Regions from separate parts of the Homo sapiens genome. Here regions 1, 2 and 3 are each linked to region 4. Evidence: promoter capture Hi-C in 16 types of primary human blood cells and fetal thymus (Javierre and others, 2016). All regions are on one chromosome and are shown on one strand. Each heading gives the region's core, a stretch centred on a gene start or on the middle of the fragment in contact. The rest is flanking DNA. Distances are from core to core; before and after follow the strand shown. Region 1 holds the start of LOC112267986 (a long non-coding RNA gene). Region 2 holds the start of SDHAF3 (succinate dehydrogenase complex assembly factor 3). Region 3 holds the start of KRIT1 (KRIT1 ankyrin repeat containing). Region 4 holds the start of CASD1 (CAS1 domain sialic acid O acetyltransferase 1).

Region 1 (6,876 bases), core at 2,496-4,995, 2.6 Mb after region 4:
TCCCAGATGATGGGTGGCCAGGCAGAGACGCTCCTCACTTCCTAGACGGGTTGGCGGCTGGGCAGAGGCGCTCCTCACTTCCTAGACGGGGCAGCTGGGCAGAGGGGCTCCTCATATCCCAGACGATGGGCGGTCAGGCAGAGACGCTGCTCACTTCCTAGACGGGGTGGCGGGCAGGCAGAGGCTATAATCTTAGCACTTTGGGATGCCAAGGCAGGCGGCTGGGAGGTGGAGGTTGTAGCGAGCTGAGATCACACCACTGCACTCCAGCCTGGACAACATTGAGCGTTGAGTGAGCGAGACTCCGTCTGCAATCCCAGCACCTCGGGAGGCTGAGGGGGGCAGATCACCCGAGGCCAGGAGCTGGAGACCAGCCCGGTCAACACAGTGAAACCCCGTCTCCACCAAAAATACAAAAATCAGTCAGAAGTGGTGGTGCGTGCCTGGAATCCCAGGCACTCAGCAGGCCGAGGCAGGAGAATCATGGGAGCCTGAGGCAGAGAGGTTGCAGTGAGCCGAGATCATGGCAGTACAGTCCAGGCTCGGCAAGAGAGGGAGACGTAGAAAGAGAGGGAGAGAGAGAGGGAGACAGGGAGGGGCAGGGGGAGGGGGAGGGAGAGGGAGAGGGAGAGGGAGAGGGAGAGGAGGAAAATTCTTAAATCAGGCTGAAACCTACTTTCCTTTCTTCATATCAACACTTAAGTTAGATAATCACAACAGACTTTGAGTAATATCTTCCACAACTGGAATGCAGTCATTCAAAAATGATAATAAAAGATTACTTTATAATTTAGTATATGATAAAGTAGTATTTCAAAGCAAAGGGGAAATAAATACTATTCATTAAATGATGTTAGGACAATTGACCAGCCATTCTGAAAAGAAACAAAAATAAATTTCTACTTCATTTCTCATTCCAAAATAAAATCCAGATGATTCAAAGATTTAAAGGAAAACCAAGAAAAATAATAATGAACGTACTGGAAGAAAATATATGTGCCTGAGCTTTATGAACTTGAAGTGTAAAGGACTTTTTAAGAACAAGGTGACTTCTCTATAAGCTTGAGGTGAAAAGGACTTTTTATACAATGAAGCATAATTTCAAATGCAGTATAAGCAAGGGCTTAAGAGTACAGGTTCTAGAAGCAATAGCTTGGGTTCAGATCCTGGTTTCACAAACATTAGCTTTATGATCCTGACATAATGCCATTGTTTGGATATTTGAGCCTCCAAACCTCATGTTGAAATTTGATCCTCGATGTTGGAGGTAGGGCATAATGGGAGGGATACAGGCTTGGTGCTATAATGAGTGAGTTGTCCCTCTTGGTTCCCATGAGAGCTGGTTGTTAAAAAGAGCATGGCATCCCCCATCCCTCACTTCTTCTCTTGCCACATGATCTTTGCATGCCCTTTTGCCTTTTACTGTGAGTAGAAGCAGCCTGAGGCTCTGCGTAGAAGCAAATGCTGGCACCAAGCTTCTTGTACAGCCTTGATATAGTTTGGATGTCCCCTCCAAATCCAGTGTTGAGATGTAATCCCCAGTGTTGGAGGTGGGGCCTGGAGGGAAGTGTTTGGGTCATGCGGGCAGATTCCTCATATTCTTGGTGCTGTCCTTGTAAGAGTAAGCTCTTGTGAGATCCTGTTGTTTAAAAGTGTGTGGCACCTCCTGTCTCCTGTTTGTTCCCTCTTGCCACATGAGACGCTTGCTCCCCCTTTGCCTTCCACCATGATTGTAAACTTCCTGAGGCCCTCACCAGAAGCTGAGAAGATGTCAGTGCCATGCTTCCTGTACAGCCTGCAGAACTGTGAGCCAATTGAACTTCTTTTCTTTATAAATTACTCAGCTTCAGGTAATCCTTTATAGCAACACAAAAATGGACGAAGACACACAGTCACTTAATTCATCTGAGCCTCAGTTTCATCTGCAAAACTATGATACCTGCCTCATAGGGTTGAATAAAAATATTCAATATACTCTATGGGTATATGTATATAGGCCATAGTCTGCTAAGACCTCCATTAAACTATAATGAGCTACTCACATATAACTGTAACTTAGCTTCAGTTACAGCTACACAATATGTCACCCACAATGCCTAAAATACTTAGTTTACATATTTTATTTATATTCTTTTGCTTTATATTCTTTCATATGTTCTGGAAGGATAGAAACCAAAATAATATAAATAAAATATAAATAGTGGTTATTTCTAGGTGATGGAATTATAAGTGAAATTATTATTTTTTTGCTCCTTTCTTCTTTATTTGTATTTTCTAACGTAAATTAAAGTATTATGTCTCCCCGAGTGTCAGCATAGCATTGTGAATACAGTCATAGACGCTGGAGCCTGACTTCTTAGGTTGCAATGCTGGCTCCCTTACTTACTACCTGCGTGAGCTTGGGGAAGCTACATAGTCTCTATCTCAGTTTCCCCATTTGTAAAATGGAGATAATATTACTTCCATTATACAACAAAATGAGTTAATAGAGGTGAAATGATTAGAATTGTGCATGGCAGATAGCATTACATAAATGTTTTCAAATATTATTTTTCTCTCCATGTACTTTCTCTTAAAATTCCTAGTTTTTGGATGTCTTTAATATAGTAATCAACAAATGAAGTTAGTTATATGTGAGTAGTTCACTATCGTTTTTAATGCAGGTCTTAGCACACTATGGCCCGTGGCCCAGCAGCCCCCAAGCTAAGAATGGTTTTTATACTTTTAATGGGTTGTGAAATATGGAAAGAAAAAAGAGAATTTGCAACAGAGACAGTATGTGACCCACAAAGCCTGAAATACTATTTGGTCCTTTATAGGAAAAGGTTGCTGACCTTTGGCTTAATATGCTTTCCCTTTCAAATACATTTGCAATTTTAAATCAGCACAGTTTATACCAAGGACTAAATCTCTAAAGGAGGAATTTCAAGAAACGCCTTAAATAGAAAGGAAAATAGTTTTCGACAGTGAAAATAGTATTTCATCTTGTGAATGTTTGCTCCCCTCCTCTCTGTTGAGACTAATTTTTCTACCAATGACTAAGAATCATTTCACGGTAATTAATTGAAGGTTTGGTACAGTAGGATCAAACAATCCAAAAGGTACTTAAACTCACCAGGCTAAATAGCATCTCAAATGATTATTGTGTTTCTCTTGGCCAACTCTGTCAGGCTGATCCAACTACCATGGGAATTGCTGTCATATCAGGTCTGGAATCAGCAAATTTGCTAGGCTAAGTATCCAGTTCTTTGCCACAGACCCTTGTGGTAATGAGTGTGGGAGCATGAAAGCTGACTCAGGAAGTCTTTAGGCACACTTCAGAGAAATAAAGTTGCCTGAAGTAAAATCTTTAGAAATCTTAAATTGTTAAAAAGCAATTGTGAAAAGGGGGGAAATTAAGCAATCTTTTTTATTTTTTGCCAACAAAGTGTTAACCTGAGACTCTCTGGGTAACTTTATCTACCACTTTAATTAGCCTTGAACAACTGGGAGACATTTTATGCTTTTGGCAACCAAAACAGCTGCAGGCAAGAGAATGGAATAAGGGAGTCCTGGGTAGAGACCTGATGGTCCTCTGAGGGCCCTCAAGTAAGTCACATAGGAAGCTAGCAGGTCTGTCTGTGAAGTTGATGTGGGGGTGGGGCAGGCATTTGTCTACTGAATCCAGGAGTCTGCGGGTGTTGTATCAACTGAAGGTAAGAGTGGGAGGAATGAAGGGCCACTTTCTTTTTGACCTTAATTGGGCTTGCTGAGATTCAAACATGAATGAATGGTCAATTGAGGGGCTGTGGTTTGCCAGAAATCTATTTGCATAAAGCAAGAAGGACACTTCCAGGGCAGAGGAACAGGCACATTTGGCACAGTCAAAAAATTCTTAATTATAAAAGGCAGAGGCACTTCTGAATACAGCACAGATTCTGTCTTCAGACTTGACTTTCAGCCCAGCTTCTGAGTATCTAAGTCCAACGTGTTGGGATTACAGGTGTGAATCACTACACTCAGCCACTTTATTTTTCTTAATTACATCAACTTGGTAGGGACATGGGTCTGCTATGGTCCTGGGGAAGGAGATGGAAGAGGCATGTAGAGGAGAAGACATTCAGGCTGAGAGTAAGACCTGCCACTAGAAATAAGGTCCAGGAAGGCAGGGGCTTTGTCTTGGTTTCCACTATGTCCCCTAACTTGAAAACAGGGCCTGGAATGTGAAGGTGCTGAAAAAATGTTCATTGAATAAACAAATGAAATACAGGCAAAGTATATACAGGTCCTATTGTAAAACATCATAAAGGACGATGAGGCAGTAGTCATTTCTCTTACTGGAGGTAATGACATTTCAAAAATCACTGAAGAAATACAATAAGAAAGAAACCTAATTAATTATACAACATCCTAACCCAACCATTATTACACTTCTATTGTTATACTTTCAGTATTTTATAATATGCAATTAAAATAGATTTATAATCAGAAAATTTCTGATGGGAAATATGGAACTTATTTTCAAAAGAACCAATCTGCCTTTACCGACAAAATATCACTAAAAACCAACATAGGTGATGTTACCTAAGTAAGTCTGAAATAATTATTGATAGCTAAATCAATACAACAAAGTATGTGGTATAAATCTTAGAGTTACTGGTAAAGAAAATATAAGACATGCATTCTCTTGCTAGTTCCTACTGTATGGGTTTCAGTGTTCTCATTTGTAAAATGAGAGGGCTGGGGCTCAATAATCTCAAAGGTTATTTTATTTAATTTAATCTCTAAATTTTATTTTACATGCCGATTGTAAAGCAGTTTGTGTGTGTGTATATACATAATATATAATAATATTAATTCAGACATAGGAGCTCCTTCCATGCAGAAGGAATATAGATTTTAGAAATTCACATTTTAAAAGCCATCTCCAATTTTTTGGGACTAATTTTTACCTGGAGGAATTGCAGTAAGTAGTTTACTTAATAGATAGACTGATTATTAGTATTTTAAATTCCCAAAGATAAATCTTTATCCTTCTAAACCAACAAAACAGAGAGTTAATTAAAAACAAAGTGACAACAACAACCCAACTAGGAGTAGTCAAAGGGGAAGAGTGATGGTAAAACGTAATTGGTTCATTGGCATAGAAATGGGATAAACACGCCGGGTGCGGTAGCTCACGCCTGTAATCCCAACACTTTGGGAGGCCGAGGTGGGTGGATCATGAGGTCAGGAGATCGAGACCATCCTGGCCAACATGGTGAAACCCCGTATCTACTAAAATACAAAAAAACAAAAAAACAAAAAACAAAACAAAAAAATTGCCGGGCATGGTGGCACGCGCCTGTACTCCCAGCTACTCGGGAGGCTGAGGCAGGGGAATCGCTTGAACCCGGGAGGCAGAGGTTGTAGTGAGCCGAGATCGCGCCATTGCACTCCAGCCTGGCAACAGAGTGAGACTCCGTCTAAAGGAAAAAAAAAAAAAAAAAAGAAAAAGGAGAAAGAAATGGGATAAAGAAAATTCTTTTTCTTTCTTGAGACAAGGTTCACTGTGTCACCCAGGCTAGAGTGTAGTGGCACAATCACGGCTCACTGCAGCCTCAACCTCCCAGGCTCAGGTGATTCTCCCACCTTAGCCTCCCAAGTAGCTGGGACTACAGGCACCTGTGACCACGCCTGGCTAATGTTTGTACTTTTTGTAGAGATGGGGTTTCACCATGTTGGCCAGGCTGGTCTCGAACTCCTGGCCTCAAGCCATCCTCCCGCCTTGGCCTCCCAAAGTGCTGGGATTACAGGCATGAGCCATCGCGCCCGGCCAGAAAATTACATCATTAGGCTTGTACATGGAGGAGTTAGTAATGCCTGAAATTTTTCCTCTTTGTAGAATTCAGGGTCAATCCTGTTGATCCTGTGTTTTTTTAAGGACCAAATCACCATCGTCTCCTGAGGATAACTCGACAGACACAATTAATTCATTAATGTAGATATTATCTTTCTTTTGATGGTCACAGGAGAAGTGCCTTGAATTGAAGCTTTATCTCTTCCATTGTCACCATCACTAGGCAGGTGAGGCTGACAGGACCGCGTGGCTTAAGGCAACGCCTCGGGAGGGAGCAAAAATGCATCCACTGTGGAGATGAGGTTTCGGTTGCCTCCATTCTTTAAATAGCGCAAACCCTCACAATGTCAAAAGAATCATATTTGAATTCGAACTGCAAGTAAGGAAATCGAAGTATACTAGAATTGATTTCCAGCCTGAAGGCGGATGCTGAATTCAGACCAGCAGTGACACTCCAGGATTTCCACGGTAGTTCATTAAAGGAGGAGAATCTGGGACTAAACAGACAGAGTCTACACCCGCTTATCCTGCACCAAAAAACGCCGAGATGTTCATCGGCATCGCGTTAGTCACATTAGCAGCAGCAATCGCATTATCAAAAACTGCAACACGCATGTAAATAATAGCTACTTTTCCACCACGTGTCGTCGGCCGGCAGTGGATGCCCCCTGTAGGATCCCTATAAGATGCCTTACAGTTCCCCACGGACATCTGCCCAGGCGACTGGGAGTCCCAGGCCCCACCCCACCCTCCAAACCCCTTCTTTGGCGTTCAATACCCCGCGCTCACCGCGGTCTCTTGCTGCCCCCTGCCAGGCCCCTAGCGTCGGGCTGCGAAGGGCTGAAGTACCGCCACGAGGGGGCGCAGGACCAACGACATCACCTCTGCGCGCGACCCGAGGCCGGAAGTTAGTCTTTTCCACTTCCGCTCCTCCTAGCCGCTCCGGACCCCAGAGGCGGAAGTAAAAGCGAACTACAGTGGATGGGTGCAGTTCAGGGTGAGATTGGGAAGGTGGTGAGGCTGTGCTTTCCTTTCTTTTTGTTAAGAAGTGGGTGTGG
Region 2 (7,416 bases), core at 2,009-4,508, 2.6 Mb before region 4:
ACTCTTCTGTGCTCTTTGTCTCATATTCTCTCACCAACATGTTTTATCTATTTAATCTTCAATGCTTATTCTGATTTCCTAGAAAATAAGTGGTAGGCACAGAGAGAAAAATAGAAAGCCTTAAACAACTATTCCTCAAAAATGAGCACAGTCAGAACTTTTAAAATGCCGTAGTAAGACCCCCGATCTATGGAGTCTCAATTTCACTTCTAATAGTTACCTCCTAAGAGTTGAGATTACAATGCACATTTTACAAACCAGTTATCGTACATTCTCCCTTCATAGATTCCCAAAAACTCTTCCTGAACTTAAATTTTTTCTCTTATGGTGAGAAATTACATAAATTCACTATTTACTCTGTAAACATGCTTTTACATTTCTATACTTAAAATACTTTCCTTCCACGTTGCCCCACTTGGTCCCTGAACAAAAACTTCCCCCAGCTGAATTCTCTCTACTATTATATTGCCAGTTTTCCAGGATCACAAATGAAGAGAATTAGAGAACTCTCTTCCAAATATGGGGCCTCTAGTGTTCTTGATCCCTTTCTTTTCTCCAGTGGCAACTATACCCAACGTTGCCCCTGATGTAAAACAAATTCAGAATCCATTCAAGTCCATAATTAAGTTTAGATGTGTGTGAGGGACTGGGATCGTGTAGACCAGACTCTACATATTAAGTTAGAAGTCCACAACAGTTACTCTTAGTTTGATGTAAACGTAACCATTAAGTTATATTCAAACAACAGGTGCCAAGTTTGTAATGAGCACTAACTGAAAAATAAAGGCATAAAAATCCATGTCATGTCTAGCAGTATCTAGTATAACATAATCATAAATTAGATATTTTGAAGAACAGGTGGGGGGGAAAAAGACTTGGAAGTCTTAAGTATATTACTCTCTGGTGATAAAACTTCTCTAGCCAGGTTTTTCTCCCCTCCAATCATTAGCATCTTCTCTAGCCCTACTCTTTCAAAAAGACCAGTTCTTCAAGTATCTTTCCTGGTAGGATCCAACCTACCACGTCTAACTCCCAGGCTTAGATTAAGCTGCCTTGTAACTGTGATAATTATGTTATACAAAGAGATTACTACGTTTAAATTTATCTTTACCCAGCTGCCAATTCATTAATTCCAGTAGATCAACAATGGTCGGGGAAGACAGGAAAACTGTTCTCTACAGACGCGTGTCAACTAATAAATTCAGAAGGAATGAGGGAAACAAAAGAGCCACCATTGGAACACAATGGCAAAATCCATCAATGAATGCTAAGACTAGTAATCATCTGAAAGCCTGAGAGTACCTACCCCCAAATATGTATTAATTTCAAAAGAGAAAATAGTAAGTTTACAGTAGAGACACCACGTGGATTATTACTTTAACCAAGTGATCACAGTTATCATCACCAGTAAGAAGTCATGTTAGTATCATGTGCCCTCTGACATTAAGTGTTGAGGCGAACACTTTGCCCATGTGGTATTCTTACTGAGATGTTATGAAATGCATAACATCAATTTAACCATGAGAAAACATCAGACAAACTCAAATTGAGATACATTCCACAAAGTAACAGACTAGTACTTTTCAAAAAAGTATCAAGGTAATGAAAGATAGGAAGACGGAGCAACTGTCACAGAATGGAGATTAAGGAAAAAGAATAACTAAATGCATTGTAGAATCCCCATTGGATCCTGGAACAGAATAAGGACATTAGTGAAAGGGCTGGCAAATTGTAAATAAAGTCTGTAGTTAACAGCATTGTAGCAATGTTAATTTCTTGTTTTTGATCACTGTACCCTGATTATGTAAGATGCTAACACAGGGGGAAACAGGATGTAGGGAACTCTCTACTGTCTTTCTAACTCTTCTGTATGTCTAAAATTATTCCAAGTTTTAAAAAGCTCAATCCCAGTTACCAAGCCTACTAGGTCAACTAACACATTTTTTATTTATGCAGTTCTTTTTTATACCCTCTCTCTCTCCTACAACCTATTATCAATTTTTTCTGAGTTGCTACTCTTTCCTACTTTTTCCCAAAGAGGCTTCCATGTGCTTACATTTTAAGACTTCTTAAAATAACCTTATTTCCTCCCAACAGAGAGCTACTCTCCTTCCTGTACGGCCACAAAATGACCTACCATAAAAGATGTAAAATACTTTAATACAGTATCTTATAGCTTCATAACAATTAGCAATACACAAGTGCTTGTAAATACATTTACATACGTAAATTTTGAGATGCATAAACACTTATTATTTTATAGATGAGAAAATAAGACTAGAAAAATTATGTGATCTGACACTTAAAATGTCAGAGACTGAATCTGAATCCAGTTCTTCAGGCTCCAAAACCAAATTACCTTATTAAAATAAAGTGCTCTGTGTCTGAAAAGCTTCAACTTCCCTGCTTCAGGCAAGCGAATTACATCAAATACACCATGATTTTCAAGAAAGTTCTAAATTTCCCGATTGTTCTAAATGTCGCTCTTAAAAGCTTCAATAATTATACAAAAAAGAATTCTGGAAGTCAGTGCAAAGTTTGTGTTCACCCTAACCATTCTTTTGATTTTTTTTTACAAAGCCGACTTCAGTCATCTCCCCTTCAACTATTTAGGCCGAAGAACCGCTTACCTCTATTTTCATATCAGCTCCAACTCATGCTTTCAAATATCTGAGCTGTCATTCCAATCTCTAATTCCATTCATTTATTTATATTTGCAAATGAAAACTAGGGGCAATCCTGCAGGGCCCCGAGCCCCACGAAATACTCTGAATATCTTTTTTCCTTTACTCAAAAAAAAAAAAAAAAAGTCAAACGACTTATTGCTAATGCATGTGTCTGTTTAATATTTAGCGCAATGGTGCAGGGCGAAGTAACAATGACTTGAGACCGGAGGAAACAACTTTCGCCTGACTTAACTGCCACCAGCATTTTTCTCCTTCACAGTTTGTAATCTCCAACCTTTTGTAATCTTTTTCATGTTACCTGATTTCTGTATCAGCCAAGTGAGAAAATTATTTAAACCCAACCAAAAGCGCTGAGATTAAATAATAAATTACGGAAATAAGCCTTTAAATTTGAAAACTAATAAGAGAACCATTAATTTATTAATGGGCGCTTACTAGGTGCAAAGGCACTTAAAAGGACAAAAAGCTCCTGAGGTTTTTGAGCACTTAACGACGACTTGCTCATTTTTGTGACCTCCTACCCTCACCCTTTGAGCACCTGGCATCTGCAGGAGCTCAAAAGTTGAACTGAATTGGGGACGCTGAAGTAACAGGATCTGCTCTAGTGAGAAACCCGTGGGAGAAACTTTGGAAAGTGTTACCTGAACAGCATTACGCTATTTCAAACAGAACAGGTTGCTGCTCTGTTTAACCCCGCATGGGGGACTGGAACTAGAAACCTGGACACCGAGGAACCCCAAAGGTCTTGGGCAAAGAGAAGGGAGCGTCACTTGCCTCCCATTCTTGCAAGAAACGCTGTGCCTCGTCAGAACCAACGGTCTTATGTCTCCTAAATTCGTCTTTCACGTACTGGTCGCCCAGGGATTTGAGGTCCGGGGGCAGAACACGGTGCAGCTGCAAGACGCGCTTGTACAATGCCCGGACTCGAGAAACGTGCCGCCCCGGCATAGCGCCCCACGCCGACCGCCGACTGCGCCTGCGCAGAGGGACGGCGCGTTCCCGCACTTCTGCGAACTTGCGTATTAGTGAACCGGAAGGCAGACGAAAGAGGGCGCGCGACCTCTATCCGGTTTGGTCCCTTGCACAATCAGGTCCTCCCGGAAACCCAAGCTCCGCTGCGGGCGGAAAACGGGTCGGTCCTTCTCTAGGAGGGGCGTGGCCCTCGTGGAGTCGCGCCTGCGCCTCGTCGTGGCTTCTTCTGGCCTGCGTCCTGACGACACAGGCCTTGAAAGAGAGAGGTCTGTGGTGGGCCGTTGTCATTTCTCAGTCCCACTCCACTGTCTTTTTCATTCAACTTCGTTTCTGTCCTCCTACCAAAGGCCTGAGAAAAGCTTCGTTAAGATCGGGCTCCTCCGGGATTCCTTCCATGGTTCCCAACCCATTTGAGGCATTTAGAGTATTACTGCACCCTGCTTTAGGGATCAGAGTGAGATTAATCTCGCCATCCACTAGCTCACCAACCCACGCTCTTTGCACAGCGCTGTTCTCCCAATTTATACTCTGGGCATGGGCTCTTCCTTGCAAACAACCCAAGTGAGCCCAGAGCTGGCGGACTCCTTAGCCAAAGTCAAGTTGGCTGCTGAAGGATCCTTGGGAAGAGTTTTAAACGTATTGTTTCCAGGACCACGACCCTGGAGATTCTGGTTAAATAGTCTAGGATAATAAGAACGAGGAATCTAGAAATTTACAAAGCTCTATCTTTTGCGAAGGTAATACTGAGAGTAGAACTGGTTTCCAAAGCTGGCAGCTCCTTGTGTTGTCCTTTCCTGTCACACGTTTGGTTCTTCAGCAAATCCTGATGGCGTCACCAACAAAAATGCAGAAATCAACCATTTCGCCCCATGTACTCTACCACAATCTCTCTCCACTGGATATTGTGTTAGCTTCCATATCTGTGTTCAGCTTCTGGTCATGACCAACTTTGGTCATGCTCCAACATAATTTAAATTAAATTTGGCCTAAAATTTCCTCCCTACTCTGAGTTGCTATGTAGGGAACTGCAACCTAACTTAGTATGTAAATTAACTGCAACTGAGAGTATATTCTTGTGACAAGTAGCTGAGCTTCAGCCAATCACAGGCTGCCAACTGATCAGACTATGTGCATATAAGGCAAATACGTCATAATGTCCTGCCCAAATAAGACTAGCCCAACTGTAAGCAATCAAGCTGTTTCTGTGGGGCACTTCCTTTTTCTGTCTATAAATACTGCCTGCCCACAGTGCTGGGTAGAGCTCTCTGAACCTCTCCCTGTTAAGTGCTGCTGCCTGATGAATGCCTCATAAATCGTGTGTGTGTGTGCACGTGCGCTCGTGCAAATAAACTTTATTAGATTTAACTTGTTTAAAGTTTTTCTTTTAACAATCTAAACTGTAAATCGGATCATTTCACTCCTCTGCTCAACAAAAGCCTCCAGGGATTTTCATCAGAGTAAAGCCCAGTCTCTAGCCCTTAAAGGTTTAAATTTTCTCCTATTGCTTTCTCCCTAGTTAGCCAGTTGCAGCCACACTGGCCTCCTAGCTCTTAGTTCATATTTTAAAAAGCCAGGTACACTCCCAACTGAGGCCTTGGCACTTGCTGTCCCGTCTACTTGGAGTGCTTTGCCAAATGTATCTTCCTGGCTAACACTTTTATTTCACTCAGCGCATACTTCAGGTCCCCTTCTAATGAGACCCTCCCTGGCAACCCTATTTGAAACCCTGCTTGAAGTTGCAACCTCACCAAACCAAGAATTTCTTATGCTCCTCCTCTGCTTTGTTTCTCTCTATATTACTTACATAATTTACTCATGTGCTTATTCTCCATTTATTATCCCCCAACTAGAGTACAAATTCTATAGGGGCAGGGATTTTGTGATTTGTTAGTGACCTGCACTAGGTCTGTAGTAAGCACTCAATAAATATCTGTTGAATTAATGTGTGAAACTCACTAACGGTGTCAGATGCCTCATATTCCTGCTGGTGAAGAAGAGGCAGAAATGTTGAAATTTGTGTGATTGTCTCACAGACCCCAGACTTCTTTCTGTGCAAAAACTTTCTGAAAGAAAAACAAGACACACTCAGCTACTGAAGGCAGGTACTTACTCATTTTAGTATCCTTTTCAGGGCCCACCACAGTGCCATACAAATAGTAAGTAGAATTTATTGCTTTGAATAGAGCTTCTCCTTTTGCTTAAATTTAGGGAAAATATGTGTTTTAAAAAACACAGAACTTTTTAAAAATGGATTTAATTTGGTATTATGACAAACTGCATTAATGGCAAGGATTGAATGGCAGCGTGGTTATTTTGCTTCAGGAAATTTTTTTCTAACCATACTTCATCTGTTAATATCCCTGTAAAATTGAAAATTGATTTCTTGTCCCCGTTTGTTTTTTTCTGGTTTCCTTTGGAGTTAAAGAACATGTGTAATAAATACCTCTTTCAAGAGCCAACACTCTTATAAAAATGTGAGAAAACATTCTGCCAATGAATTAATTAAAAAATAAAGGAATTAATTGAGCCTAAAGAGAGTAGAAAGGGTCCACAAAGCATTGGAGAATCAATGCTCAAAATGGCAGACGATGGGTGAAAGAGAAGCCAAGACATAGTGGTGTGGTTAGGCCTTGAGAAGTGGAATAAAGCAATAACAGTGAGAATAATGACAGTTAACCTTTATTTTATTTTTTTTACAACAAGCTGGACAGTGAGCTATGTTTTGAGGACAAAACTTTTCTCTGTTTCCCTGACCAATTTAGGCTGATCAGTGTTCCTCTTGTGGTAAAAATAGCCATGAACTGAAAATAAAATCACACTTATATTTCTGGCCACCAATCTAGATCACTACACTTCATGCAGACCTTTCCTTTATCCTTCCTTCATGTGTTTCTTTTTCTTATATGTTACTCTGCAAGTGATTTAACCGCTCTGTGCCCAGATTTTCTCACTTGTAAATGAGCTGGGTTAGGTAATTTGCAGTACTTTCCAACTTTACTAATCTCTAACCATGACTTCTCTCAGATTCCCTCCAAAATTTTTTGTAAAGTGAAAGAGAACATATATCCACTCTTAAATAATTGCTTTAAAAATTTTTTGTTTAGAAAAACGTGGGGTAAATGCCTTAAAATTGTATATGGAACACATCACCTAAGCCTTTCAGGGCACACAAAATATAATAACCACCTATAGCCATAGGGATGATCAACACAGCAACTGCACTATTCAGTGTATTGCTTCTGTGGACTACCTCACACACAGCTAGAAATGGAAGGAGGCAGCTAGGGACAATTTTTGGCAAGCAGATAGAGAATTTTGAGGTCAAAAGAGATGGAGAGAATTGGTAAATGAGGAAAAATAAATTAAAGGAGAAGAAATACCTGTATGGAGTGTACTGAATTTTCACTTTGTATTATACTCTAGTCTTTACTAAAATGTTGAAAATAAGACTTGCTTGCAAATAATGCTAAAGCATTTTTCTCTCAAACGGAAGTGAGAAAGGAGTGGGGAGGGGGAGAACTGATGACAAAAGATTTGGAAGCTGCTTTACATCATTAGATAAGAAAACAAGGTTTTTACAGTCTTGAATTCAGTTGCACAAGTGGCTCAGTTTTCAAATTATAGTTACTCAAATTTCAAGTTCTAAATTACTGAGAACAATGAAAAGTCTGGGACAAGATACATCTTCAACCCAAACAGCTCTCACATGCTTAGAGGCCTAGAGAGATGTACAAACCTGATCTGGCCATTGCGACTA
Region 3 (6,684 bases), core at 1,360-3,859, 2.3 Mb after region 4:
CTTCCATCTACTTATATATGAAAATGAGCTCGCACTTTTATCTACAAGCAAGTTGTAAATACACATATTTCACTTTCACAAGTTTGAGTGCATACCCCAGAAAAGAAAGAGGAAAGAAAACCCACTCTTTGAGAAGTGGGCAGTGCCACAGGAGTACAAAAGAGTGGCTAACAAAACTTCCCTCCCATGTTTCAGGAGTCACCTACCTGTTAGAGCCCTTGTTTACAGCACAGTTGGCACAGTTTCAGACTCCTTACATATTGAAAACTCAAAATTCTCGGTGTAGTGGTCAAGGGAACAGTGAAATAGGAAAATATAGTTCTATCTTCCCCATCCTACCCCAAGGAAAAGAGAATCAACAACATTTTTTCTAAGACTTCTCCAAGATAGCGCCCATCACCTCACTATAGCACCCTACTCTTATTCAGAAACTGAACAATTTTACAGAAAGCAAAAGCCACACCCTTAATAATACACTCAACTCTGCACAGTGCTTGGCTTCTGTGCTAAGTACATTTCCAGAGACAGAGTTGGAGCTACATCTCCTGAGCCTACTTCAAATTAAAATCTGTGAACAGTGAGAAGTTACAAATCAGATAATAGCCCAAAATCAACTGCTGAAAGGAGGTTGGGGGGAAAAGTCATTAAACACATCCATCTTTCTTAATGAAATGACAATGTTTTTCAGCAACACAAAACACCAAAGCTACCAGTCTACACTACACAGTAGTTTGCAGAATGACAACCTGCAGTACACAGTAAAATTATTCTTAAATTATCGTTTGCTTCCTATGGTGCTCTGAAAAGTAGCAAATGCATAAAGTCATATAAGAGCTATTGTCCAATCACTGACAGCATTAAAATTATTTTTAAATCTAATTTCTGGAAAGTTCTGCAGGAGCAGTTTGAAAAGCAAATCAAATTCTAATGAGAAAAAACGCCTAGTTCAAAAATCTGAAAATATACTTTGAAGACATTCACAGTTTAAGCAGCAGGAGGGTCATAGGCACCAAGGTGTGTAACATCTGTGAGTGGCTGATACAAAAAAAGATTTCTCTGGAATTAATGATTGAAAATAATTATCAAATACAATCTAATATGATCTTTAAACGTCTGTCTCAAAAGCAACAAAGCAAAAGCTTGTAACAAAGCAAAACCTTCCAATACACAGATTTTTACACCTTACACATACCCACATACTTCACAAATTAAGAACTAGATGAAAATTAGAACACTAAAATTTAAAGGTATCTAAAATACACTATTTGAAACAGCAGACTCTTATCTTTACATTTATCTGTCAGATCTACCAGTAAAGCTCTTCTGAAATGGTCATTCCAATACAAGATTGTTCGATATGCCATTCCGTGTGAATAGAGCTTGGGAGACTAATTCTCAAAATCTCCTCAGGAGATGCTTTATTACAGCTCTAGTTTCAATTTCCTGCGACTCAAACAGCTACGTACAGAAAAACAGCTCATACATACGGAGAAGAATAAGAATACAGGGGAGCGCTCCATTCTTTTGTTTTGGTGGCAGAAGCTGCAAAAATAAAGGTTCACTGGAGCCATCTGCACCTATCCCCACCCATCACAGCCCTGCAGAGCACTTTTACCCATCCGCTTCTCAAGACTCTCTCTAGCCCCCGAGGTCGGCAGAACCCGTGGCTTTCCACGTCTCAAAGGATGGGGGTGGGGGGGAGGCTGCGAGGAAGGACACAGATCCTTTGAGGACAGAGGGACAAGGAGATGCATCCAGATGGGGAGGATGGGACGCGTCACGGAGACCCGGAGGCTTGCAAATTCGCTGGGAGAAAAGCCCTGTAGGGCAGAGAATGCTGCCTGTTCAGGGATGGGGACAGACAGAACAACAATGCTCCAAAACAGGCGACAGACACACTCCTAGTAGATCCGGGAGGGTGTGAAGTAGGTAGCTCTGAACTCGGAGCCACAAATGGGTAGAGGCAGCCTCAAACACATCTGTACCGCGAAGCTGAGACTTACGGTTACTTCTCTCGCTGAGGGTAAGGGTCGGTGGACCCAGCAACTCCGCAGTTCCGCCTCCGCCGCCCCTGCCTCTACAGCCGAGCTGGTGACCTCAGGTACCCAGCCCGCCCCACCCACCCGGACGGTTGCCCCTTCCTCGCCGGCCCGGGTGCACCCGCCAGGCGGAGGCTGATGTGGCCGAGGGTGCGCACTGGCGGCCCGCGGGAAGCGCTGCGTGAGCCGAAGGCGCCCGCGGCGAGGCTCAGACTGGGTGGGCGCCCCCCATCCCTCTCCGGCCGCTGCGCCGCCTCACTCGGGGGAGGGGAAGAGGGGGCGGTGGCTCTTGCCTCCGCCTCGCGGTCAAGCCCGGCTCATGTTCCAGCCTTGCGCGCTCGCAGCCCCGGCCGCCCTCTTCCCCTCCCCCGCCTCCGGCTCCGGCTCCGGCTCAGCCGCTGGCACCCCCACCGCCACCACCCTAGTCTCCTAGTCGCCTGCCACCAGCCCCTGAGAGACTGCAGGTCCAGTGAAAAGGAGCAGGAACGGCAGCAGCCCGGCCGCCGACCCGGAAGCTCTTTCACCGCCAACCGCGAGGCTGCAAAGGGTGTGAACCCGGAAGCGATTTCATAGCCACGGTAACGGCGGGGTGGAAAGCTAAGGCCTTTGAAGACCTGGGACCCCGTAGTTTCGGGAGAGGGTGAGGGGTGAATGGTGCTGAGGTGCGAGGAGAGGGAAGGACAGTAAAGAGCAGGTGGGCAGGAGGGTCTCCGACTCCAGAGACCTGAGCTTTTGGGGCGCGGGTGGGAGCGCGGGGGAACCCTCAAGACGGCTTTCTTTTGGCGACTGAGGGTTTTTCTGCCACAGGAAGCTGGGCCGGGCTGCTGTGCCTGGGAGGAGGGAAGGAGGAATGAGAAAGCGGTGACGGTCCCTGCCCCCCCTCGCCAGGTGACTGTCCCACCCATTTAGTTGAATGTAGCGGCCAGAGAGGCACTCGCGGCAGCCCGTACGGGTGGGACCTCTCGGTGTCCTTCGGGAAACAGGAGGAGCAAGTTCGACTCCAGCGAGGGAAAACGGAGGTGGGAGACTGAACCATCTCCACATCTAGTTGCCCCAGGCAAGGAGTTTATTTTTCACATGTAGTTACAGAGAAACCATAGCCACTTTTTGGGTGGAAACTCTTTGAGCAAAGAGGCTTACGTTTTTCCCCAGTAGTGGACGTTGACGGGTGGTGGCGCAGGAAAAAACCTCCCAGGCAGAGTGATTACGTATTTTTGTCATTGCAGGGAAAGGGATTCACAGCTTGTCATTCTAACTCACTTCTCCCCCTGTAACTCACTTCTCGCCTCTACACTTTTCTCCACCTTTTAAGGTTTTTGGCTTTCATCGCTTTTTCTACATGTTTTTAGCCTCACCAGAAGTCTTTCATCTCGGTGGTCCAACTCAGGATCTCAGCCTCATTATTTTCTTACCCTTCTGGAGTGCATATGTGCCTTTACAGTTTCTGTTTGCAAACGCTGTCTAGCATACTAAGAGGATGTTAGCAAACCTGTTCCATGGACACTAAATGGCAGTTGTACATCTCCCCTCATCAGTCATAGTGACAACCAGAAATGCCCTCCATATTTTCCAGTGATCCCAGGTAGGTGCCACCCCCCTAATTAAGGACCACTTCCACTGCTTTATTTATAAGATCTTATTACTTAGGGAGCATATTATCATTTGTGCCTAACATTTTCCAGAATGGAGTGAGCCATATAACAAAATGCCACGTTTCCTGTACTTATTCACTTGAACCCTCATCTCAGACTCAGTCTAAACATATTGCAAACTCTAGTTATACCTTTCTTGTATTTTAGTTCAAGCTACTCATTTTCTATCAGTTTGTCTGTGTTTCTCCCTTAGCAGTTTTACCTTCCTATGTTAGTTACTTTTGTTATTTTCCTGTTAAGCCTTTGTTTCCTTCTTTCATGTCACTGGAAGAATGTAGATTTTAAGTAGTCAAGTACGAATAGTTCTTGAAAATGAATTTTAAGAATATTTTGGGGATATGGTAAAAAAGTATTTGGTTTAAGAAAACAAAATACTGTTACTGTCATAGTTATGTCTTTTTAAAATCACATTTGTTTACCTTTTAAAAGTTCAGGCTTCTGTGCAGTATTAATTAAATATTCTAGAGAAGTGATGAGTATTGACAAAGTACTTTGCTAGTAAATGTTTTCTTAACATGAGTTGACCAAGACAGGAATTGATTTGCTTTAAATTGTCTTTAGAAAAGTAAGAGTTACTTGATTTTTCTTTTAGGTCCTTAATAGATAAAATGGTTTCTGTAATTGTGCCCATATATCATACAGTGTATTCACAATACAATGTCTTTCTTTTTGGGGCTTGCAGTCTTCAATGCGTCTGTCTCATAATTTGTAAACGTTTATTATCTTGAAGTCATTGTTAATCTGTGGTGAAAAGTAATTGCTAAATAGAAATTCTGAGAAGAAAAAGGCCTCATCCTTTTCACATGATGTAGGAAGGTCTGTTGCATGAGGTGGGTTTTAAGAATGATTTTATACAAAAAATTGAACTGAAAAAAATTTCATGAAGTATATAATGATAAAGAATGATAACGTCCTCAAAACCTTTCACACAATGAAATGTCTCTATCCTAATGTGTCACTGTATTTTTTTCTAGTGAAATATCTGTAGGGTTTTTTTGGATCTAAATCAATGGAAAGTTTTAGAATTTAAAATAAATTTGAAAAGTATTTAAATTATTTTATTTAAAATTTTTGTACAATAATTTTAATGGTTGTTTTAATCTTAGGCTAAAGTTTATGTAAAATGCCAAAAGCTACTGTATTTTAAAAGAATTTCTTCTTAGGGTAATTTTACAATCATAAGGCACTTTTTAATTATTATTTAGGGAAGTGAATTAAAAGTTACAGAGTGACATTTTCAGTTGCAGTGGAAGAAACAGGATAAATTACTCTATCGCCTCTCAAATAACATTCAAAACCCTTTCTTGAAAATGGTCTATCTTGAGAGTTGCAGCAGTAGGGAACTCATTAAATATGAACAGGTAATTTTAATGCCTAATGGTTTTTAAAAAACTGAAGAAAGTTCATCTCAACATAGCTGGGAAAGAAACTCTTTAATGTTCTTTTAGAAATTTACTGACAAATAAATGGGGAGAAGCTTTTTCAAAAAAAGATAAAAAATAATCAGTACAGAAAGATGCACTTTAGTGTAGCCATGAAAGAAATTTATTCAATGAAGAAAACTATTATACAACTAAGATTGTGGTTGAAATTCAGTCACTTGTTGGAAATTGCGCAATGGAGACTTAAGATTTAGTGGGACAAAGTATATGCATAACACACACGCACACACACACACAGTGAATATATTTGGAATAAAAAATTTGGATTATTGACAGGTGTGGTGGCTCACGCCTGTAATCCGAGCACTTTGGGAGGCCGAGGCAGGTGGATCACTTGAGGTCAGGAGTTTGAGACCAGCCTGGCCAACATGGTAAAACTCCATCTCTACTAAAAGACACAAAAATTAGCCGAGCATGGTGGCACACGCCTGTTAATTCTGGCTACTCAGGAGGCTGAGGCAGGAGGGAGAATCGCCTGAACCCGGGAGGCGAGGGTTGCATTGAGGCGAGATTGTCACTGCACTCTAGCCTAAGTGACAGAGCGAGACTCTGTCTAAAACAAAACAAAACAAAAATTTGGATTATCAAGGAAATTGATAAGGGAAATGGAAAAGATTCTTAAATCACCTTCAGAAAGCTTTTATCAACTGACCAAATAGTTTTGGTTCTGTGATAAGCAACTCCAAAGAAAATTACATACTACGCTTTAGCTCATCCAAATGTCTGATATCAAAGTTATCCTTGCTGAAAGTTCTGGAGTAAATGTCAATGGATATAAAACATCTACCATTTCCAGCTTCCAAACTGTTAACAGTATAACTAACATTCACTTTTGTAATTTATGGAAAAAGTGTATATTATTCTGAATCACTATTTCAAGTCATTATTTACAAGTTATTTTATAATCATCATCACTTTTTTTTGGCCCCAAAGGCAGATTCTTACTATGCAGTTAACACCTATGAAAATGTATAACCCTATTTTAAAATGAAAAAAGAAATACAAAGGAAATCTTAAATTATCAGCTAAGGTTTTGAGTAGTTGAACAGTAAAGATGCAGTCAAAGTCATTCCTGGCTTGCCTTTTAGGCACTGTATATTCTAGGATAGAGAACATTTTATTTTTTTTTAATTTTTTCGACATGATTATGTGGAAATAAAAGTTTTCAATTTAAGATGCATTACTTTTTTTTATCTTGCCATCAAATGTGTCATTTAATCTTTCAAAGGATTTTTTTATTTGTTTTGTAAAGCAATGGGAAATCCAGAAAACATAGAAGATGCATATGTTGCTGTTATTCGTCCAAAGAATACTGCCAGTCTCAATTCTCGGGAATACAGAGCTAAGTCATATGAAGTAAGAACATTTAATAATAATTTATTTCTACCATTGAATGTCATTCTGTATTATCATTCACATATAAAGCCTTATTATATCTTGTAAAGTTGTATTAACAAGCCAATTATTTTAGGTCTCTGCCCATTATTTTGTCTTTTTTCTGCCACGTGCCTTTTGACCATTTGCTGTTTATTGACATGTAGGTTATTAGAT
Region 4 (6,869 bases), core at 1,661-4,160:
GATTACAAAGATGTTAAAAATAGTGGAGAGGAGTGAAATATGGTAATTGTATCTACCTCATAGAATGGTTATAAAGACAAAATGAGTTAAAACATGTAAAACCTTTAGTAGAACAGTCCCTGACATATAAGTGCTCAACGTTAGCACACAGTATTCGCCAAGCTTTACTTTCTGTAGTGGGTAATTCTTTCCTTTACTTTCGGTAGTTTGTAAAGCAAGAGATACTGAATATGTATATCCAAACTGCATTCACTCTACCTTGCCTCAGCACACTCATACTCACACATTCAAAATCCAAATACACAGCCTAATCTCCTTCATCTAATGTAAGATCCTTTCTTATTCTAAAGCAAGATTTTCCAAGCCATGGCCTGGGCTGCTGGAGGCCCAGGATGGCTTTGAATGCAGCCCAAATTCGTAAACCTTCTTTAAATGATACGAGATTTTTTGCAATTTTTTTTAAGCTCATCAGCTATCATGAGTGTTAATATTATGTGTGGCCCAAAGACAGTTCTTCTTCTTCCAATGGGGCCCACGGAAGCCAAAAGATTGGCCACCTCTGTCCTAAAGAGTTATAATGTGAGTCAAATGTATGATTATCTTTGTGTGAAGGGCATTGCACCTGACTCAGTTTGATACTGCCAAAGCATGAGGATATTCCTGGTAAGATGTTTATTTTTCCCAGTCTTCAGCTCAAATTCTTGACATTCAGTCTGGGCAAGTACACTCACCAGGTGTATGCTTCACACTCAAGGCACTGAAGTACCTATGGAAACTGATGACTTACTTCTGGAGAAGGCTTTATAAACAATCCCAGATTGCTACACTGACTCATAAGTCCCCATCTGACATTCTATTCTCCCTGCTGATGACAGATCTTGATAAGATGAAATCTATAATCTAAAAATAATAGTAGTCCAAGGTTATCAAAAGATAAAAAGCACAAAAAAATAAAAGGAAGGGGACTAGATGTTTATTTATCTTAGGACAATAGTACTGTAGTTATAAAATTTCTCTCTACTACCATTACATAAATTGAATTAAATTACTGTTCTTTTATACCAAATTGGCATAAAATGATTAATAGTAGTTAAAAGAAATATTTCCTCAAAACCACCACAAATCAATGCATCAACATTGCTAGTTTTACATGATTGTAGATAAACCAAGGCCTTGCAAGGTCGTATGGCTGTGATCTGGAGAGAGCTGGAGAGAGGCCAAAAGGTTATAAAGAATCTAATTTTTAAAATCAATTTAGTATACTAAAAGCTGTTCACCCAGTATGGCTCTAGAGTACAATATTTTTAATTCTCAAGAGTTGGAAGAAATAAAGCAGCAAAACTGACCAAAATTGAAAGATCTCCTGGGATGAGAATACAGCGCAGACTCCAACAACCCGTTTATGGATATTTTGCCAAAGTAGGTGTAAATTTAAACGGGCACAGCGCTAATTTGCACCTGTCCATTACACATTACATCTTGACTGATTAATCTCACAGTCACCAAGAGCTGGCCAGATAATGGCTTTGATAGTATTAAGAGCCAAAAATAAAAGATCCTATCATTATTAATTTCCCTCTGCCTGTCAGCCTCTCTCCCAGTGACATTTTTACAAAGGAAAAAAAACAATCAATCAGCAAGGAGAAGTAAATATCCCTTGATTACTGAAAGATAATTCATTCTCAAATCAGGTCATATTTCCTTTTCCCCTTTACACCAATTTCAAAACCCATGGCCAAGGCCTGCTTTCAAAGTGCTTACAACTTGCTTTCAACTGCCCACCTTTACGCCTGTCAACCCACAACTTCCTTCCAAAAATCTGCTCTGGTGCCTTAACTTTGTAAAAAGTGTGCACTCCGAAGCCTTTAAACGTTTCTGCATCACAAAAGCTGGGTGGCACCTCTTCCATTTGGCCACAGGCATCTTTTGCCAGCTGTCGCCCTTTTGGCAAAGGAAAATGGGGGCGGCCCTTGCCGCTGTCCAACAGCCCAGACTGGGTGTTACAGGGCAGAGGCAAAATTAAACAAAGGCTAAGGAGCCGGACCCTTAAGAGGCAGGACCTGCGACCCCACTGCTGGCAGCGGTGCCCCTTGCAGGGCGGCCTTGGGCTTCATGCGCCCCGGGCTGCCCCCAAGGACCGCCTGTCCGACTTCCTGCACGCGAGCCCCTGATCTGGAGCGTCTCCCCGAACCCAGACCGCTCAGGAGCCGGACCTCAGCAGCACTTTTGGCCAGGTCCAGGGTTGGCGCCCCCGACCCCAGCGCGGGCGGCTCGGGGCGCCCAGAACCACCAGCCATTGTCCTTTGGTGGCCCCCACTGGGGTCCACTCAGTTGGCCTCGGGCGCCGGCCGCTGCTGGGGACACCTGGGGGAACCGCCTCCCCCGCGGGCCGGGCCGGCGGAAGGCCGCGTGGGCGTGTGTTGGGCGATGGGGGCGGCCTCCAGCCGCCGCGTCGCCGCCTCCCCCACGGCCTGCCCGGGCAGAGGGGAGGGCCCGCTCACCTCGGTAGCGGCGGGAGGCGAGGTGGCACGCTGCGAGCAGCAGCACGGCCACCAGCGCCAGCACCTTGGCGCTCCTCACGCTGAAGTAGTGGTTGATCTCCCGCTTGCCCAGGTTGTAGGCCAGAGCCGCCATCTTGGTTCCTCCATGACAACAGTGCGCGGCGGAGCGGGAAAGGGGCGCCGCACAGGGGCAGCACTGGGGCTGCCGCCGCTGCAGCCAGGCGAGGAGCGGCCGCCAGCTCCCCAGGCCGCCACCTGCGCCTCCCGCCGGGGAACCTGACCCCGCGGCCGCGGCGCCCCCGACCTCCGCCTGCCCCTCCTCGGCCGCGGCCGACTCGGCGGCCTCCCCCCAGCCCCGCCGCCGCTGCTCCGCCGTGCCGGTTCCCCAGGCGCCCTGGACGCCTGTCTCCTCCCCTTCCTCCTCCTCTTTAGCCTCCTGCCTTAATAGCGGCTGCGCCTGCGAGGGGGGTCCGGATGCCCAGTGCTCCGGGGTCACCGGGTCACGCGCCCCGGCGGGCGGCGGCGGCTGCGGCAGAGCCATGGGGGTGTGGGGAGAGAGTACTAGGGGTACCCGCCTGGCCCGGACGCGAGCCTTAGGGCTGTCTCCTAGTTTACTGGCCGCTACCTGAGCCCAGGTTGGGGCAATAGAACTACAGTTCCGGGAGAAAAGTACACATCGTCCCATTCCTTCCTTCCCCAACACTCCCCTTTCTCAGCCTTCTACTGCCAGAACCCGCCCAGCGGGATGCGAAGGACACCCTAAGGTCGTTTATTGTCTGGCTATCCGTGGCCTGGCTGGTCAGTCTGGCTGCCCCTGGGTGCTGGCCAGATTGGATTGATGGATCCAGTTGATGGTGCTGGCCGATGGATTGCTGGCATCCAACCCAGGAGTGAAACCAGTCTTAACACTTAACTCACCGCTCTGGCCAGTTTCTCTTAAACCGTTTTTTTAATGTCCTCAGTTTGCCCAGTTCTGGTGGGCGAAAGTACACCAAAGTTCCGAATGGAAGGTACAGAAGGAGCCTAACTTAGTGTAGGTGTTGATGAGAAAAGAGTCTGACTCTCACTTGTATTTACGCAAGTTTGGCTAGGTCGATGTGCCAAAAAAATTCGTTTTTTTTGAGAGGGAGTCTCACCCTGTCGCCCAAGCTCTAGTGCAGTGGCGTGATCTTCGCTCACTGCAGCCTCCCCCTCCTGGGTTCAAATGGTTGTCCTGCCTGAGCCTGCCGAGTAGCAGAGATTGCAGGCGCCCGCCACCACACCCGTTTAATTTTTGTATTTTAATAGAGACGGGGGTTTCACCATTTTGGTCAGGCTGGTCTCGAACTCCTGACCTCAAATGATCTGCCCATCTCGGCCTCCCAAAGTGCTGGGATTACAGGCATGAGCCACCAAGCCTAGCCAAAAAAAATTTTTCTTAATGTGCTTATGACAATCATCCCCGCTACTAACGTTGGTTAATGTTTTGTGATTCTCAATAAAGCCAGCACTCCATTTCCTTAATAAAGCATTGTTATCCCTACTCTCCTCTCGCTCCCACCCCACCTTTTTTAAATGGTTTTTCTTGTTGCCTTCCAGATGGGAATGGTTATTTACATTGCTTGCCATTCTACTTGCCTTGCCTTGTTTAGAGTGAGTCATTGTTTAGTTGGGGTGTTGTCAAGTATTCTTTACAACTTTCCCATTTAGCCATTCCTGAACTTGTGCTTATAGGCCCCTCTTAAAATTATAGAATATTAGATATGAAGGGACTGTAGAGATCTTGTCTACTCATTCCCATTCTCTTCATCCAAGGACTCTTTATTATGTTTTCATCCATGGACTTTATATCTTGAAAGATTTTGTCACTTAAATGAAATCACATACATCACTGTCATGGATGTAATGCTAATAAGCAATAAAGTTAAATAAGTGTACAAACACTTAGGCACTGTTCCCTGCAAATAGTCTTTTAATTTTGGCTGTCATTCTGATCAGAGGTTGATCACATGTTGTAAGAATTGGGTATTGTAAAAACCAGATAACTCTGCCAACAATATATGGTCTGCCAATCACATCCTAGACATTTCTATGATGTCATTACCAGCAAATTAGAATTTCTGATCAGCATGCAATAACCAGTGTTAACCCAAAGGGTTGAGTTAATGCCTGCAAAAAGTAAAGAAACTTGACATTCTATTAATTGCAATTTCCAGAAGGCTTTCTTAAATACTGTAAATAGCTTGTGAACCTCCTTTTTCTTCTCTCAAGTTTAAGGCCAATCTCTCTACCTCTGCTCTGAATCTTTTCTTATCCTCCTTTCTTGAGGGTGTTGATTCCTCCATCAGTTATCCCCATGCAAATCATTCTTTTTCTGTGTCTTCCAATTCTCCCTATCACCTTGCTGTTTGCCTTCCTCCAAAAAAAATTTTTTTTTAATGAAAAACACCCATGGACTCTGTTCCTGCATGTTTACCTCATCAACTCTTTCCTCCTCTGGCAAACATCTAGAAAGAGCAGTGTTGACTCTCTGCCTTCACTGGCTCAATTAGCATTCTCTCTTCAGCCATTTCATTGTTCTTCACCAAGGCTGTGTGGTATGACTACTTGTTAAATCCAAGGGACACTTTATATTCCTTATCTTCCTGGACCATTTTGTGGCACCTGACATTGTTGACCATTCTTCCTTATTTGGTATCCATCTAAAACAGAGCGGAGACTTTGTTTTCAGCCACTTCTTGCTGTTTTTAAGTGACCTTAGGATCACTTAGTCATTATTTAGTGGTCCCACCACTGCCATGGGATCACCTTCCTTATACACACGCGCGCGCACACACACACACACACACCTGATATGTCAGTCCATATTTATCTATCCTCATGCTGTAAGAACCATCTGCCTACTAGGATATCCTTCAGGTACCTAATATATATCATTTCCTAAACAAACTCATCACCTTCCTTCTCCTTTATCTACTTTCAACCTTTATGCCTAAGTTTTCATCATTAACCCAGCCGTCCAAGCAAGTGTTTGAGTCATCCTTGCTTTCTTCTAAATAACTCTCAACTGTGTTGCCCCCTCTCTATCCACTTGCTGTTACCTTGGTTAAGGGATGATTTCTTGCCTGCATTTCTTATCCTTTTACTCGTCTTTCTCAGGTCACTCGAAAATCCAACCCTACTGCCATTCTGCCATACCTCTTACCAGACAGAACTTTCTTAAATTAAAATCTCGTAATGTCATTTCCTGCTAAAAACTAGTTAGTGGCTCCACGTTTATTTCCTGACCCCTGAGCTATCCAGAATGTTTACTAATGCTCAGCATGTTACCTCACACCTTAATAATATTTTAAAAAGAGAGAGACAGAAACCATCTGACAGAAACTCTCTCAACCTATGCATTATTTTTATTTTTATTTTTATTTTTTGAGATGGAGTCTCACTCTGTCGCCCAAGCTAGAGTGCAGTGGTGTGATCTTGGCTCACTGCAACCTCTGCCTCCCAGGTTCAAATGATTCTCCTGCCTGTCTCCCGAGTAGCTGGGACTACAGGTGTGCACCACCACGCCTGGCTAATTTTTGTATGTTTAGTAGAGACGGGGTTTTACCGTGCTGGCCAGGCTGGCCTCCAACTCCTGACCTTAGGTGATCCACACGCCTCGGCCTCCCAAAGTGCTGGGATTACAGGCATGAGCCACAAAGCCGGCCCTATGTATTACTCTAAAACAAACTGCTACACTTTATCTTTTCCCTTCTGATTCAAAGAAAAATTCCTCCTCCCCTTTCCCAAAACTGTCACTCTCACCTGTGTGTATGATTATACCAATATCATTTCATTGAGAATCTGGTCTCCTAAGTTCCCCTTCCTTATTTCTACCTTTAATTTATCTCTCTTCATTGTTTGCCAAATTCATCCTATCTTCCTTAATGCACCACACAATCTCTCTTTTTTCACCACCAAACTTCTGAAGGAACAGTTTGTGGTTACTTTCCCCATTAAAAAAATTGTTTTTACTATTTTTCAGTTCTTTACATGAAAACTAACTTATGTCCCTACTACTTTACTTACTTAAACCACTCTTTCAAATGAGGGCCACATCCTAAATTACCAAATTCAACATATTTATCTTAGCTTTATCCTTCTTGGCTGTGCAGCTTTCTTGAAATATTTGCTTTATTCAAATCTCTCCTCTTACCTTTCTCATGCATCTCCGAAGATTCCTCTTCCTTTCTCAAAGCCCCTTTTTAAAAGCGCTTTTCAGGTTTCTCATTTGCCTACTTCTCTTCTTAGCAAACCTAAATTGTAAGTTGGCCTCAACTATCACTCCTGATCCACACGTGCAACCTGGCTTCTCATGGTCCTCTCATTTTCATATACCTAAGGGACAGC

The links. The method cuts DNA at HindIII sites, captures the fragments that hold promoters and counts their contacts. A CHiCAGO score of 5 or more calls a contact.
Region 1: a contact is called between a fragment that was not itself captured here and the fragment with the promoter of CASD1 in region 4, in 1 of 17 cell types (naive CD8 T cells). The highest score is 8.2, in naive CD8 T cells.
Region 2: a contact is called between a fragment that was not itself captured here and the fragment with the promoter of CASD1 in region 4, in 3 of 17 cell types (total CD4 T cells, non-activated CD4 T cells and total CD8 T cells). The highest score is 6.5, in total CD4 T cells.
Region 3: a contact is called between the fragment with the promoter of KRIT1 here and the fragment with the promoter of CASD1 in region 4, in 1 of 17 cell types (naive CD8 T cells). The highest score is 5.1, in naive CD8 T cells.

What each region holds. Positions count from the first base shown.
Region 1 is chr7:91,880,596-91,887,471 of GRCh38, reverse strand. It overlaps LOC112267986 (a long non-coding RNA gene), which reads right to left and starts at 6,670. Exons shown (of 2, transcript XR_002956514.2): 1 at 6,608-6,670; 2 at 992-1,856. MTERF1 (mitochondrial transcription termination factor 1) reads left to right here and starts at 6,770. Exons shown (of 3, transcript NM_006980.5): 1 at 6,770-6,815. The HindIII fragment of the contact is 4,536 bases long and covers 1,478-6,013 here.
Region 2 is chr7:97,113,943-97,121,358 of GRCh38, reverse strand. SDHAF3 (succinate dehydrogenase complex assembly factor 3) reads right to left here and starts at 3,661. Exons shown (of 2, transcript NM_020186.3): 1 at 3,462-3,661. The coding sequence starts at 3,635. RefSeq lists enhancers at 3,484-3,573, 3,924-4,003. The HindIII fragment of the contact is 1,525 bases long and covers 2,496-4,020 here.
Region 3 is chr7:92,241,839-92,248,522 of GRCh38, reverse strand. KRIT1 (KRIT1 ankyrin repeat containing) reads left to right here and starts at 2,609. Exons shown (of 19, transcript NM_194454.3): 1 at 2,609-2,733; 2 at 3,352-3,621; 3 at 4,374-4,521; 4 at 6,386-6,489. The coding sequence starts at 6,388. It overlaps ANKIB1 (ankyrin repeat and IBR domain containing 1), which reads right to left and starts at 2,549. Exons shown (of 20, transcript NM_019004.2): 1 at 2,004-2,549. RefSeq lists a silencer at 2,114-2,503 and an enhancer at 2,434-2,728. The HindIII fragment of the contact is 4,029 bases long and covers 1,142-5,170 here.
Region 4 is chr7:94,505,850-94,512,718 of GRCh38, reverse strand. CASD1 (CAS1 domain sialic acid O acetyltransferase 1) reads right to left here and starts at 2,910. Exons shown (of 18, transcript NM_022900.5): 1 at 2,502-2,910. The coding sequence starts at 2,634. RefSeq lists silencers at 2,247-2,606, 2,707-2,856, 2,897-3,116 and enhancers at 1,650-2,636, 2,637-3,625. The HindIII fragment of the contact is 8,005 bases long and covers 165-6,869 here.